2 separate regions of the Homo sapiens genome follow, and region 1 is linked to region 2. The links are contacts of gene promoters, found by promoter capture Hi-C in blood cells and fetal thymus (Javierre and others, 2016). All regions are on one chromosome and are shown on one strand. The core of a region is centred on a gene start or on the middle of the fragment in contact, and the rest is flanking DNA. Distances in the headings are between cores, read along the strand shown. Region 1 overlaps ZNF862 (zinc finger protein 862). Region 2 holds the start of ATG9B (autophagy related 9B).

Region 1 (6,494 bases), core at 44-2,543, 1.2 Mb after region 2:
CCAGTCGCAAACCCAAAGCCTTGCTGCCTTTGCCTCTGTTTCCATAGTTGTTTCAATGTCTTTTTTAAAAATCACATACACTCGAGTAAGACTGAGTCTCCTCACCGAAGAGATCTGGCTGTATCCCGAGTCTCTGAAACCTTTGCTCCAGTCCCGTGGGAGCGTGCCGTCCCGAGGATGTGGAGCCGCAAGGGCTCGCCAGAGGGATCTCAGGAGCTAGGCCTCAAGGAGCGCTGTTGAGTGACAGGTCTGATGCAGTAGCTTTTACTATTGGTGGAAATCGATGTTTTTTCCTTGAAAGTCTACCTTTCTAAGTTCAGTAAACCAAATTAGATCATGTATGTGAAAGCACTTTGTAAACTATGCAGTACTCCAGAAAAGGCAGCCAAGCCCTTAATTATAACTCACCAAACAGCCAACTCTCATCTTTACCTTCTAACTGGCAAAAATGATTGAGCTCACTTTGAAGGACTAGAGAGGAAAGAAACTGAAAGACAAAAATCAGGTGAATACACAGGCACTTCCCCTGCCCACCTCTGTTCCTGGCCCTGTCCCCTCGTGAGTGAGAGCAGAGCTCGTTCTGTCAGCTTCTCTGAGCTCCTGGTCCTCGCTTAGGGACACACAAGACAGAGATGTGTTGAAATAGACTCTGCTTTATTCAGGTAGCAAAAGGTTAGGAATCAAACATGGTTTTTAAAACCTCCTTTCATCTTTGAAAATAGAGGAGAGAACATCCCTGGGCCAGTCACAGTTACTGTATTTGGCTAAGCACACACCTGTATGAGGGACCCGCCCCTCCACACTGTTCTGATAGGTACTTAGCACCCTAGAAACTCATCCTCTGCAGGAGAGAGAAGCAAGGGTCTGGAGCGCGGTCACATACTCTAAGGTATCTTCCAGGACAGGGGGCTGGGCTCCCTCACTCCCACCTGGAGTCGCTATGGCTATTGGGATCAAACTACCAGTTACATACTGGTTACTTGGAATGTCAGACCCGGTGGGTATCAGTCATCAGGGAGAGGGAGGGGAAATGCCAGGACACGTACATACGGATGCTGTCAAGACTACAGGCAAGGAGGAGGGTGGCGACAAGCGCTGGGACTCCAGCCAAAGCGGGAGTGCATGCTTCTTCCCCTCCCAGAGCCCTGTGGTTTTTCTTCTTGTGAGGCATAAACAGGAAGCCTCTCCAACAAGGGGGTCTCCAGCACTAGGGGCTGAAACTCAGCCAGCCTCTCCAAACAAAGCAAAGGGGCCAGCCTGGGCCAGGGCCTCTGATAAGGATGCTCACTGTGTTTCCACGGGGGTCCTGAATGAGGAAGTTCAGGAATAAGATGGCAGTCATCTTCTTCCTTCTTGGCCATTGGCTGACAAAGGGGAACGGAGCAGGCCTGTGCCCCTTGAGAAATCGGGTAGTGCAAATTTTATGACAAACAGCATTCTCAGTGGCCCCGCTGCACAGGGACCCCCCTTTCCCACCACCTAAGGAAGGCACTGGCCGGTGTCCTCGGAGCACGCTGATGCTGACGTGGAGAGGGCGAGTTGCTTCCCCTAGCTTCCACCTCAGCTCCAGAACTACTCCCACAGAGACCCACTCACGGCTGCTCACAGGATGGCCTCCTGCTCTGAGGGATTCTTCAAGGATGAAGAGGCCGCAGGAAGCATGTGTGCTGGAACAGCACCTTGATGTGGAATCCCTGTGGGTAGGGCAGAGGCTATAGCCCCACCTAAAAAAGCCTTTCTCCCTCCCTTTCCACGAGTTCACATCCACAGTGCCTGACCTGGGCAAGTTCCTGAACGCCCATGGAGACGGTGATGGGGAGAAGGAGGCCTGTGTGTGCCTTAGCCACGCAGATAGTAACACCTCCCAGAGCTCCCGCACCACAGGCCTGTGGGGTCCCTCTGACCGCCAGACCCACAGGGCTGGGAGACATTTCCACAGGTCAAAGGCAGAAAGCAAGAAAGGAATTCCTGACTAGAACTGAAAATGACACGAAAGCAACAGTGCTAAGGCTAAGTACTGGGGTGGGGATGAAAGGGCAGGTGGGGTACCAGGGTACCTGCGGTACCAGGGAGGGGCTCGGACGCCAGCATCTACCCTGGGAATGGGAAGGGTACTCAGACAGCAGCTTCTACCCTGGGAATAGGAAGGGTACTCAGGTGCTCAGATGCCAGCATCTACCCTGGGAATGGGAAGGGTACTCAGACAGCAGCTTCTACCCTGGGAATAGGAAGGGTACTCAGGTGCTCAGATGCCAGCATCTACCCTGGGAATGGGAAGCGGCAGACTATGGAGAAAGGGCCCACCCACAGGGGCCTGCAGCACAGCACAGGACCTGCCTGAGCCAGGCAGCAAGCAAGCTGGGATGGATGGCGCCCACTTCCTGCCTGTTTAAAACAAGTATCAGGCAGGGCAGAGAAACCCTGCCTGCTGACTTGCCTCATTTCCTGCCCATGGTTAAGGAAGGCAGAACCTAGACAAAATCATCCTCCTCCTGATAAGCGGCCTCCTGAGCCTGCCAAGACGGAGCTGCCCTTGGAAGGAAAAGTGCTTCACTTTAGGTGGAAGGAAGATCGGGGCGAGGAGGGTGTGAACCTAGCAGTGCCAGAAGCCCCTCTGTGCCTCTAGGGCGGTGGTTCTGTGGTTCTGAAGCTAGAGCAGGCCCAAAGTCCCTGGAGGAGGTTGTTCAAAGCCCTTGTCACTGAGCGCCCATTCGGGGATGTCTCAGTGGGCCCTGGAGATCCTGGTGCAGAGTCCCCAGGGCAGCTCAGAGAAGAGTGGACTAGCCTGTCGTGCAGATGGTGCATTCAGAGAGCAACTCCTACAACAAGGACTTTGGAGACAAATTCCTACCTGTCCCACTAAGGACGAGGATGGGGCAGATGGCAGCTAAGTCCACACTGCAGCCAGAGGTCTTTGAGGGAGCTCGAGGCTCTCATTCACTAATCCTAGGGCAGATGGGGAGTCAGCAGGCACTTGGATCTCTGCTGCCACTTCATGGAGAGGGAAACTGAGGCACAAAGAGGAAGGGATTAATCAGACCACTGCCTGCAGCAGAGCTGGGGCTGCATCCCAAGCCTCCCAACTCCAACTTCGTCCCATCCTCTCCTGGGTAAACCGGGCCGGGCATGCCACGGGTTAAACGCGGCTCGGCTCTCCGGGAAGCACCAGACCCCCTGCCAGAAGAGCCCAGCTCCACCATCTGGAGCTGCAGGAAGAGAACTTTCTTGGGTGCTCTGTGCAAAGGGCTTGTGATTGTTTCGCCCTAAAGGAAGCCCTGGGAAGAGGTAGAGTTCCGCACGAGACCACGGCCTCACTGCTTCTGCTGTGGGAGCCAGGGTAGGAAGTCCCAGAACAATGCCTCTGGGGGCTCTTGCAGCCAGGCCAGCTGTCCCTAGAGCAGGGGCAACCTCCCCCTCTAACAAGGTGGTCTTTCCCATTCCCACTTAGACTGTGGGCAGCCTCCCTGGAACATTCCCCAGGGATGTCCAACAGTCTCCCCTACCAGGACACTCCTCTTGCCACCAAAACTCAGGGGCTGAAACCTTTCATGATGGGGTTATTTTCTGCAGCACCTTAAAAATGAACTTGAGATATAGAACCTTCTGGCACATTTGTGTGCTGTGAGGCATGGCTGTGCTGAGTGGGGCCTCAGGAAACAGGTCATGCACCTCCTGATACCCCTGCTGCTCTGGGATGCCACTGCCCACTTCCTGGTGCTTAGAGACCATCGCCACCAGCAGAAGATCCTAGGGCAGCCTAGAATCTGCAGAGCCTGTCCCAGTGATCACAGAGGCGTCTCCAAGGCAGTCCCAAGGACTCCCTGTCCCTCAGGACATCCCGGGGGCCTCCTGGCTGGTGTGGGGATACAGGAGTCTCTCGGGAGGCTCCATGATGCAGTCCTTCAGAACCTCCGCTGCTTCCCTGGAGGGCAGGATGGGTGGCTTCTGGGTCCTGGGCTCCTCCACATAGAGGGCTCCCATCTCCTCCTTCCTGAGCCTGGCGCCTGTGAGGGAGGAAGGAGAATACAATTAGACTGACTGACAGTGACCGCCTTCCACATCCAGCTTCGCCCAGGGGCTGTTTGGTGAGGAAAGCTTGGCAGAACAGACTGAAGTCAGGACCACGACTGCTCTTTGCAGCCCTCATCTGTTGCTACTCTGTTCATTCTTTTATCCTGAGATAGGGGATCTCAACTGGGGGCGATTTTGTCCCCCAGGGGCCATTTGCCAATGTCTGGAGATGATTTTTGTGGTCACAAATGGGGTGTGTGCTACTGGTATCCAGTGGTTATCTAATAGGTAGAGGCCATGGATGCTGCTCAAGTTCCCACAGTGAACAGGAAGGGCCCCCAACAGAGATTACCCAGCCCCAGCATCAACAATGCCAAGGCTGAGAGCCCTGCCTGGAAGGAGGCAGCGGTGCGTAGTTTGGCAGTGTTTGGACCAATCTGTGCTGGTCCTGTTGTCCCTGTGGAAAGAGTAACTCGCATCAGGGCACACCTGACATCATTTTTTTCTCCTTAGCACCCACAGGGCTGGACACAGAGCAACTCACCCAGCCCTCTCTCGGCTTTCCCTTTCTCTTATCAGTGAGGGGTCTCTTTTCTTATCCCCACCTGCCCTACTGTGGCTTCAGGGCCACCTTGCTTCCTACAGAGCCTCTGTCAGCCATGAGATCCAGTCCCATTTCTGGTGACCACAGACTCAGAGGTGAAAACTGGGAGCAGCAACAGCCGGAAGGAGGCCAGCTAGAGACGCGAGGAGAGAGAGCACTGGGAGCAGCAACAGCCGGAAGGAGGCCAGCTAGAGACGCGAGGAGAGAGAGCACTGCTCCATCCTTGTCAAGTGGTCGCGAGTGGTCTGGAGAACCCCAACAATGGGCATATTTTCTTTGGTTTTCAGTGACTACTTGAAGAGAAAAATTTCCTGTCTGTGGCTTTCAGTAACTTGCCCTCCCTTCTAATACAGCTTCCCCCTCAAGCAAGTTCTTGACCCCAGCCCTCCGGTCCAGAGAGGCTGTTTCTGTTCTCCCCTGCCCCGTGAGATTTCTGCCTGAAAGCCCCACCATCTCCTCCGCATCTCACCTCCTCCACAGCCACATGGACCTCTTCCCTCTTGAAAATTCCTGCACGGTCCAGAGTCTATACAGCCCCACTTAGAATGTGATGGCGCTGCCTGGGGCTGGTCAGCCCTCTCCTTACTCCCAGCAGTGGTCTTGACCTTTAACTAGTACCATTTGCACCACCTGCCAGGCATTGTCCTGAGTGTTTTCCACACACAACTCATTCGGCAGATGAGAAACCAAGGCATCAAAGGACAGACTTGCCCAAGGCCACACAGCCAGTTGGGGGCAGAGCCAGCACAGCACTGTCACCAGGGCAGACAGGCTCTAGAAATGCACGCTCTCTGCACTAAGCCCTGCTGCCTAGAGCACATGTGCGTCATCTCCCTGGCAGGGGTGCAAGCTCCTGGAGGGTGGATGTCACGCATCGAGTACCCACTGGCCTAGCAAATGGGTGGGTGCATGACAGAAGCTCCACAGGCACCTGCAGTCCTGTCTTATTGGCCTCTGGCTCAGCATGAGGCTGCCTTGGGGGAGCTCTGCCACGTGTACTTACTTGCAGGGGAGCGGGCTGGCACCTGGGCACAGGTGTAGACATGGCTGAAACGCCGGCCTGAGGAGGTCAGGTACCAGTGCTGGATGGCGGGCTGGGGGTCGTACTCCGTGACGGCCACGCCGTTCACAGCTGTCATCATGAGCATGTTGAGCACCTCGTTGGAGAGCTTGGTCCTCTCATCGGTCCTGATTCGGTTCATGGCCTTGAACCCCCGCTCACAGCAAGAGGTGGAGATGGGCACACAGACCACCACGGCCATGAGCTTGCTTAGCAGGGGGAAGCGGCAGTGCTGGGCCAGGGCGTTTTTGCAGAGCATGGAGAACGGGAGGTGCTGGGCAATGGTTTTCAGGCCCAGCCACTCCTCCAGCAGAGCTTCCTCACTGTATCCTGTTGGGAGGGAGCACTCGAAATACCTGGCCAGGTTGAGAATGTCATCATTCCCAAAACTGGCAAGTTCAATCCCACTTGGCCAGGCCATGGTGTCAAACACCTCCATGTTCTTCAGCTGTGGGGGTCGGTCTGCGTCAAACCTCTGCTGGAGGTACTCAATCCCCGTCAGGACTGTCCTCTCCCTATCCGCCTGGAACCGCTGTTCCGCTACCTCCAGTTTGTCCAAGCAGATGCCGTGGAGCCGCCCATCCTTGAAGCTGGCGTTGAATTCTTCCTCTTTGGGCCCTGCCTGGTGACGGAGGCTCTCCAGTGCCACGTAGGCGCGGCCCAGCGTGGCGTTCACCTCTGTAATCAGCACGATCTCCTTCTGGCACACCTCGGACAGAGGCCTGTAGATGCTCAGGAAGTCCAACAGGAAGTGGCAGAACTTGACAAAGTGGAAGCCGCGCATGAGCTTCAGCATCCCTTTGGCCCGGTGCCCAATCT
Region 2 (6,961 bases), core at 3,298-5,797:
ATTAGATTGGCTCTTTATCCCTGCTGAACATCTCTAGTTCTTCTTCGACTCACTTTGAATCCTGGAAGCACCACTACATTAAATGTCTCTTCATACTAATAAGAATTTTCGTCCAAATCGCGCAATCACCTCCAGGGCCAGGAAAGGGGACCCCCGGTCGGGAGTGCGGACTGGGCGTGGTCACTGACCCCGAGCGTCCCCTCCTTCTGGCTGACACGCGGCTGCAGACGCAGGAGCCTCCTGCTGGCGACTGGAGTGTCACTATAAATAATTGAGGCCAACACCCGCGGAGTGACATTCCACCCCGGTAGGCCTGGCCTACAGCTCCCAGCAAGCCTCGCGCAAGCTCGTGGACTCCATCTCCCGGCGGGCCGGCACTGCCCTGCCGGGCGGTCAATGGCCCGCTCTGAGTAGGTTTTTCCGTTTTTACCTGACAGCTGAGAATGTCTGGAAGCGGAGGGGCGGTAGCAGCCTGCCTGGGAATGGGCCACCCCGAATCCCGACCCGAAATAAATGCACCAGCATGCTGACGCGGTAAAACAGGAGCCGCCGGCAATAGCAGTTTCACCCTCATCCCACTGAGGGCTCTATGTTGGCTCCCGCCCCCATCCCGACAACCCCCTCGCGCCTTGGCGGTGATTGGTGAAAAGACACATCAATCTCACTTCAAGCTGTGATTGGAGGATATGTTGTCAGCCCCCTCCTTTTGGAACTGTGATTGGAGGGAATCGCCTATCCGCCCGCCCCCTGCTCTGGGCGGAGCCGAGCAGGAAGTGGGCCTGGCTTTTGCCAGGTGCTCCTGTGGGCTCCGGGTGACGTCCAAAGGGTGTGGCCCGACTGGCCCTCCAAGCTATGGAGTATCCATAGTAACGCGTCAGCCGCCGACCTCGGGCCATTTTCCCAAGGCTCCAGGATCTCTAGATGTCCCGTCGTCTCAAGGGCGTGTAGAACGCGGGTTTTGGGGGAGGAATGAACAAAAATCGACTGGGAGTTTTTTCAAAACACGTACATATGCCCTGCCACCCACCCCGCTCTCCTAGGTGCGTCAGAACTGCTGGGACATCTGTCACGTGAAGGGGTGGGTTGCCCCTCCACACCTGTGGGCGTTTCTCATTAGGTGGAAGGAGAGACTTGGAAAAGAAAGAGACAGAGAGACAAAGTATAGAGAAAGAAAAATGGGCCCAGGAGACCGGAGTTCAGTTTACGGAAGATCCACGCCGGCACCAGCCTCTGAGTTCCCTTAGTATTTATTGATCATTATCGGGTATGGCAGGATAATAGGATAATAGTGGAGAGAAGGTCAGAAGGTAAACACGTGAACAAACGTCTCTGCATCGTAAACAAGGTAAAAAAAAAAATGCTGTGCTTTTGATGTGCATACACATAAACATCACAATGCCTTAAGAAGCAGTATTGCTGCCAGCCTGTCCCACCTCCAGCCCTAAGGCGGTTTTCCCCTATCTCAGTAGAGATAGGCTTTACACCGAGACATTTCCATTGCCCAGGGACGAGCAGGAGACAGAAGCCTTTCTTTTATCTCAACTGCAAAGAGGCATTCCTTCCTCTTTTACTAATCCTCCTCAGTACAGACCCTTTATGGGTGTCGGGCTGGGGGACGGTCAGGTCTTTCCCTTCCCACGAGGCCATATTTCATCACATGGGGAGAAACCTTGGACAATACCTAGCTTTCCTAGGCAGAGGTCCCTGCAGCCTTCCTCAGTGTTTTGTGTCTGGGTACTTGAGATTAGGGAGTGGTTTGAGATTAGGGAGTGGTGATGACTCTTAAGAAGCATGCTGCCTTCAAGAATTTGTTTAACAAAGCACACCGTGCACAGCCCTTAATCCATTTAACCCTGAGTTGACACAGCACATGTTTCAGGGAGCACAGGGTTGGGGGTAGGGTTACAGATCAACAGCATCTCAAGGCAGAAGAATTTTTCTTAGTACAGAACAAAATGGAGTCTCCTATGTCTACTTCTTTCTACACAGACACAGGAACAATCTGATCTCTCTTTCTTTTCCCCACAGTCACGTGTACTTGGGGAAGAACTCCCCCGGTGATTCTGACACTCTTGCCCTACGCCTCAGCCATTGAGAACTATTGGTATGGAGGGCCTGTAATTTATCAAGGCGCGGCCTCAGATCTGTCTGCCTCGCAGATACCTTCCTCACCCGGGTCAGAATGACTTGCCTCAGGCTCCTGCCAAAGAGTTTGCACCACTCGTTTCTTCCCTGTAATTACTTGTTTGCGTATTTGTCTCCCCACTGGGCTGCAGCTTCTTGGGTAGTGGCTCTGTTTTATTCATCTGTCCTCTTCCCTTCCAAATGCTTGGCAAGGAAAAGTGCCCTTTAAAATAAATCGACTTGAATTGGGAGTGGTGGTAGGGAGGCTGTCAATGAGAATGAATTCAGGGTGAAACTAGGTAGGACAATGTCCCAGGATTAGTTTGGGGTTGAGCTGGGGAGCTCTTGGTGTATGGGGGGGTCCTATTGTGACTATGGTGGAATAGCCACGATACTGAGTGACATTGGGCGAGTGAGGTGGGGGAGAGACTAGACAACACCCCACATAACCCATCTTGACAGATGTCTCAGAAAGATTATGGGAATTTCCTGGCCCCTCTGCAATGTGGGATTCCATTTTGCTACCTCTAGAAGGACAGGGTCTTGTTTTCATAGCTCTGCCTCCTACTCTGAGATAAAGGCATGCAAGACCTGAGCTACTACTACAATACCCCACACAGAAGGAGAAAATCAGGCACATCTGGATTCAAGTTTTGTGGGTGATTCCATGATTGCCTCCAGTGAACAATCTGGGAAGCACAGTGTCCATATCGCCATTTCAGGGGTACTGGCCCCAACATCAGCCCTTAGGCCTAAGCCCTAGAGACCTTGACACCTGGTGGCTGAGTCAGTATCTCAGTAATGGGCTTTAGAAGGAAACCTGGTGATTCAGGGCCTCAAGAATGGCGTTGGGCAAGCCACCAGACCAGCTGCCTGGGTCTCCTCCTCCTTGTTGAGGTGACAACAAGGAACTCAGTTCAGCTCCTCCCTGGGTATCCAAATTATCCTTCCAAGTCCCAGACTCACAGCTGTCCTCCCTTCTGATTCAGCCCTGATGCTTTTCAGGGGGTCCCAGAAGTGGGATCCGGACTTGAGAGAATGTCACAGTTGAAAATGATAAGGATGCAAACGGAATGGAACTTTCAGAGAACCCCAATTTTCTACTCTAAGTTCTCCAAACCAACTCTCAAATCCAAGATAGCTGCCTTTCCTTTCTTCACCTCCTCTTCTTAGTTTTCCCCAACTTGGCTGCAAAGTCAGCCTCCCCTCTTCTCTTCCTTAGCACCTCAGACCAATAAAACATGCAACCTTTTCTTATTCTTTTTAAAAAATTTATTTTTGACCAGGCGCAGTGGCTCACGCCTGTAATGCCAGCACTTTGGGAGGCCAAGGCGGGTGGATCACGAGGTCAGGAGTTCAAGACCAGCCTGGCCAACATGGTGAAACCCCATCTCTACTAAAAATACAAAAAATTAGCTGGGTGTGGTGGCACACACCTGTAGTCTCAGCTACTCAGGAGGCTGAAGCAGAAGAATCACTTGAACTTGGGAGGCGGAGGTTGCAGTGAGCCGAGATTGTGCCACTATACTCCAGTCTGGGTGACAGAGTGAGACTGCCTCAAAAAGAAAAAAAATTATTTTGTTTGTTTTTTAGATTTTGTAGAGATGGTGTTTCCCTAAGTTGCTCAGGCTGGTCTCGAACTCCTGGCCTCAAGTGATCCTCTCGCCCGGGCCTCCCAAAGTCCTGGGATTACGGGTGTAAGCCAACATGCCTGGCCCCTTTACTTCTTCTTTTCTGTTTTGGTCACAAAACATTTCTCTGTTGATCACTGTAGTGTGTGTGTGGAGGGAAGTGGGGGAGGTACACTCTTAAGAAATGAAATAGTTAACATCTTGGTCCTAAGATTTGTTGTAGAGATGGAGTCTTCTCATTCTGTTCCCCAGGCTGGTCTTGAACTCCTGGCCTCAAGCAATCCTCTTTCCTCGGCTTCCCAAAGTGCTGAGATTGATTACAAGTGTGAGGTACTGCGCCCTGCTACAATCCTTTAATAGGATGTTTTTGGGGGGGGTGGCAGGGGGCAGGATCTAGCTCACTGTAACCTATACTGTTCCAGTGTAACCTGCACCAAGCCATCCTCCCACCTCAGTCTCTTGAGTAGCTAGGAACACAAGCACACATCACCACACCTGGCTCTAACACGATTTTGCTTTTTGCTTTTGTCATTTTGGCTGCTGTTCTTTTTATCTTTCATTCATTCAAGGTCTGAAGATGGAGATAATAGGAATCTTCTCATCTCAATGTGCTCTTTGGCCCCTCCTCTTAAACTGATGCCCCTCTCAGGCCCTGAGGGATTTGGCCTCAGGTTGCCCTGGAAGGGGTGTGAGTGATCAGACAGGTGACTGAGAGCTGGGACGCCTGAGGCCTGCCTAGGCTGAGTCACCTAGTAATGTTGTTGTCATTGTTCCTGTTGAAGTCCCAGCTCAGTGTCACAGACCTTTGTGGAAGCAACAACAGCTCCCATCCTTCCAACCTTTCTGGAGAAGCCGTGGCCTGATGGTGAGCCGAATGGGCTGGGGGGGGAGAAGAAGGCGGCTGGGGCGGTGGGGAGATCTGGGGCCCGGATCGGTGCCCCTCCTCCCCATGCCACTGCCACCTCCTCCTCCTCCTTCATGCCGGGGACCTGGGGGAGGGAGGATCTCCATCTTCTCTCTGTCCCCTGCCCCTCATACAAGAAGCTCCCCCTCCTCATTTTCCCCTCCCACCGCAGGGCCCCCTTGCTCAGTGCTACAGGGGACAGGGGCTTCTCAGTCTTGCCACAGTGCTCTCCCTATCCCAGCCACCCCCCCAACACAGGCTCAACCTGCAATGACACCTGCCTCTGCATCTCCCTCCTGGGGATCCCACTCCACCCCACCCCTGGCCCCGGCAACCCCCACTCCCTCACAGCAGTGCCCCCAGGACTCTCCTGGGCTGCGGGTAGGCCCTTTGATCCCTGAACAGGATTATGAGCGGCTGGAGGACTGTGACCCTGAGGGGTCCCAAGACTCACCCATCCACGGGGAGGAGCAGCAACCCCTGCTTCATGTCCCTGAAGGGCTCCGAGGTATGTGTGTGGGTGTGGGTGGGAGAGGGTTAGTGGTGCCTGGGAGCTCCAGTACTTATCCCAGGCTGGGCCTCTGGCAGCGGGTTGAGAACGTGGAGAATTGATCACATGCCAGGGGCTGACACTCTCCCCTCTGTGCCCAGGCTCCTGGCATCACATCCAGAACCTGGACAGTTTCTTCACCAAGATATCCTTTGCGCTAGGCCTGCAGAGGTGGCATGGGAAGGTCCTCTTGGAGCTGGCACTGTTCTTGGCAGGGAGACTCCGTGAGGGCGTCATGGGTGGGAGACTTGTTGGGGCTGAGGGGAGGTGTCCTCAGGAGAGGCCCCCCGTGCCTCAGGCTTGTTCCTTGACACGCAGCCACATCTACAGCTACCACCAGCGGAATGGCTTTGCCTGCATCTTGCTGGAGGATGTCTTCCAGCTGGGGTGAGACGCTTAGCCCGGGCCCGGAACTCGGTCCCCTGGGCCCATGGCTTCCTTCTGTCATTTTGCTTCCTTAATTGTGCCAGCTGCTTCCATCCCATGCTTTCCCGAGCAGCCCAAGGGCTCAGCAGGGGCAGGGTCAGGGAGGATAACCATGGGCTGCTCTGGGGGCTGGGGCAGGAGCCCACCTGGCTGTCCCTGATCACTGCAGCATCCCGGCACCCCCCCTTCCTCCCGGCAGACAATTTATTTTCATTGTCACCTTCACAACCTTCCTCCTTCGATGCGTGGATTACAATGTTCTCTTTGCCAACCAACCAAGTAACCATACCAGACCTGGGCCGTTCCACAGCAAAGTGACCCTGTCAGATGCCATCCTACCCTCAGCCCAGTGTGCTGAGAGGTTAGTGACAACCTGGTGGGGCCCTGGGGGTGAAGCATGGGCAGTGGGTAGAGGAGTAGACGGGAGCCCCACTTTGTCCCGTCATCTAGATCAGCAGTTCTCAAAGCTTTTGGTCTTAGGACCAAAAATACACTTAATATACTTTAAGTTGTACTTAAGTGTATTAAGTTGTACTTAAAGTGTATTAAGTATATCTTTTTTTTTTTTTAAGACAGAGTTTCACTCTTGTTGCTCAGGCTGGAGTGCAATGGTGAGGTCTTGGCTCACTGCAACCTCCACCTCCCAGGTTCAAGCAATTCTCCTGCCTCAGCCTCCCCAGTAGCTGGGATTATAGGCGTGCACCACCACGTGTATTTTTAGTAGAGACAGGGTTTCACCATGTTGGCCAGGCTGGTCTGGAACTCCTGGCCTCAGGTGATCCACCCACTTTGGCCTCCCAAAGTGCTGGGATTACAGGTGTGAGCCACTGTGCCCGGCCTTTTAAGTGTATCTTAATTACAGTGCATTAAGTGTATCTTAATACACTTAAAATTGGTTGAGAATCCTGAAAAGCTTTTGTTTATGGGAGTCGTATCTATCCACATTTTACCTTATAAAAAATTAAAATTAGGCCGGGCATAGTGGTTCACACCTGTAATCCCAGCACTTTGGGAGGCTGAGGCAGGAGGATTGCTTGAAGCCAGAAGTTTGAGATCAGCCTGAGCAACAAAGTGAGACCACATCTCTATAAAAAATAAAAATTAGCTGGGCTTGGTGGTGCGTACCTGCAGTCCTAGCTAAGCCTAGTCAGGAGGCTAAGACAGTGACTGTCTCTGATCACTGCAGCATCCCTACACCCTCCTCCCTCCCAGCAGACGATTCATTTTCATTGTTGCCTTCACAACCTTCCTCCCTGAAGCATGGATTGCAATGTTCTCTTTGCCAACCAACCAAATAACTGTTCCAGACCTGGGCCGTTATTTGGC

The links. Contacts are between HindIII fragments. The CHiCAGO score rates a contact against its expected background, and 5 or more counts as called.
Region 1: a contact is called between a fragment that was not itself captured here and the fragment with the promoter of ATG9B in region 2, in 1 of 17 cell types (non-activated CD4 T cells). The highest score is 5.3, in non-activated CD4 T cells.

What each region holds. Positions count from the first base shown.
Region 1 is chr7:149,861,619-149,868,112 of GRCh38, reverse strand. It overlaps ZNF862 (zinc finger protein 862), which reads right to left. Exons shown (of 8, transcript NM_001099220.3): 7 at 5,619-6,494; 8 at 634-4,004. The coding sequence ends at 3,829. It overlaps ATP6V0E2-AS1 (ATP6V0E2 antisense RNA 1), which reads left to right. Exons shown (of 4, transcript NR_027040.1): 4 at 1-419. Among named protein-coding and RNA genes, the nearest start is that of ATP6V0E2-AS1, 9.0 kb to the left of the region's middle. The HindIII fragment of the contact is 5,608 bases long and covers 1-4,097 here.
Region 2 is chr7:151,022,080-151,029,040 of GRCh38, reverse strand. It overlaps ATG9B (autophagy related 9B), which reads left to right and starts at 4,547. Exons shown (of 14, transcript NM_001317056.2): 1 at 4,547-5,167; 2 at 5,311-5,354; 3 at 5,532-5,596; 4 at 5,835-5,996. The coding sequence starts at 4,618. It overlaps LOC124901777 (a long non-coding RNA gene), which reads left to right and starts at 783. Exons shown (of 3, transcript XR_007060593.1): 1 at 783-1,078; 2 at 2,029-2,234; 3 at 4,008-4,046. ABCB8 (ATP binding cassette subfamily B member 8) reads right to left here and starts at 591. Exons shown (of 16, transcript NM_007188.5): 1 at 431-591. The coding sequence starts at 525. RefSeq lists enhancers at 1-7, 259-568, 8-612, 1,218-1,822, 3,032-3,636 and 1 more. The HindIII fragment of the contact is 8,592 bases long and covers 1-6,104 here.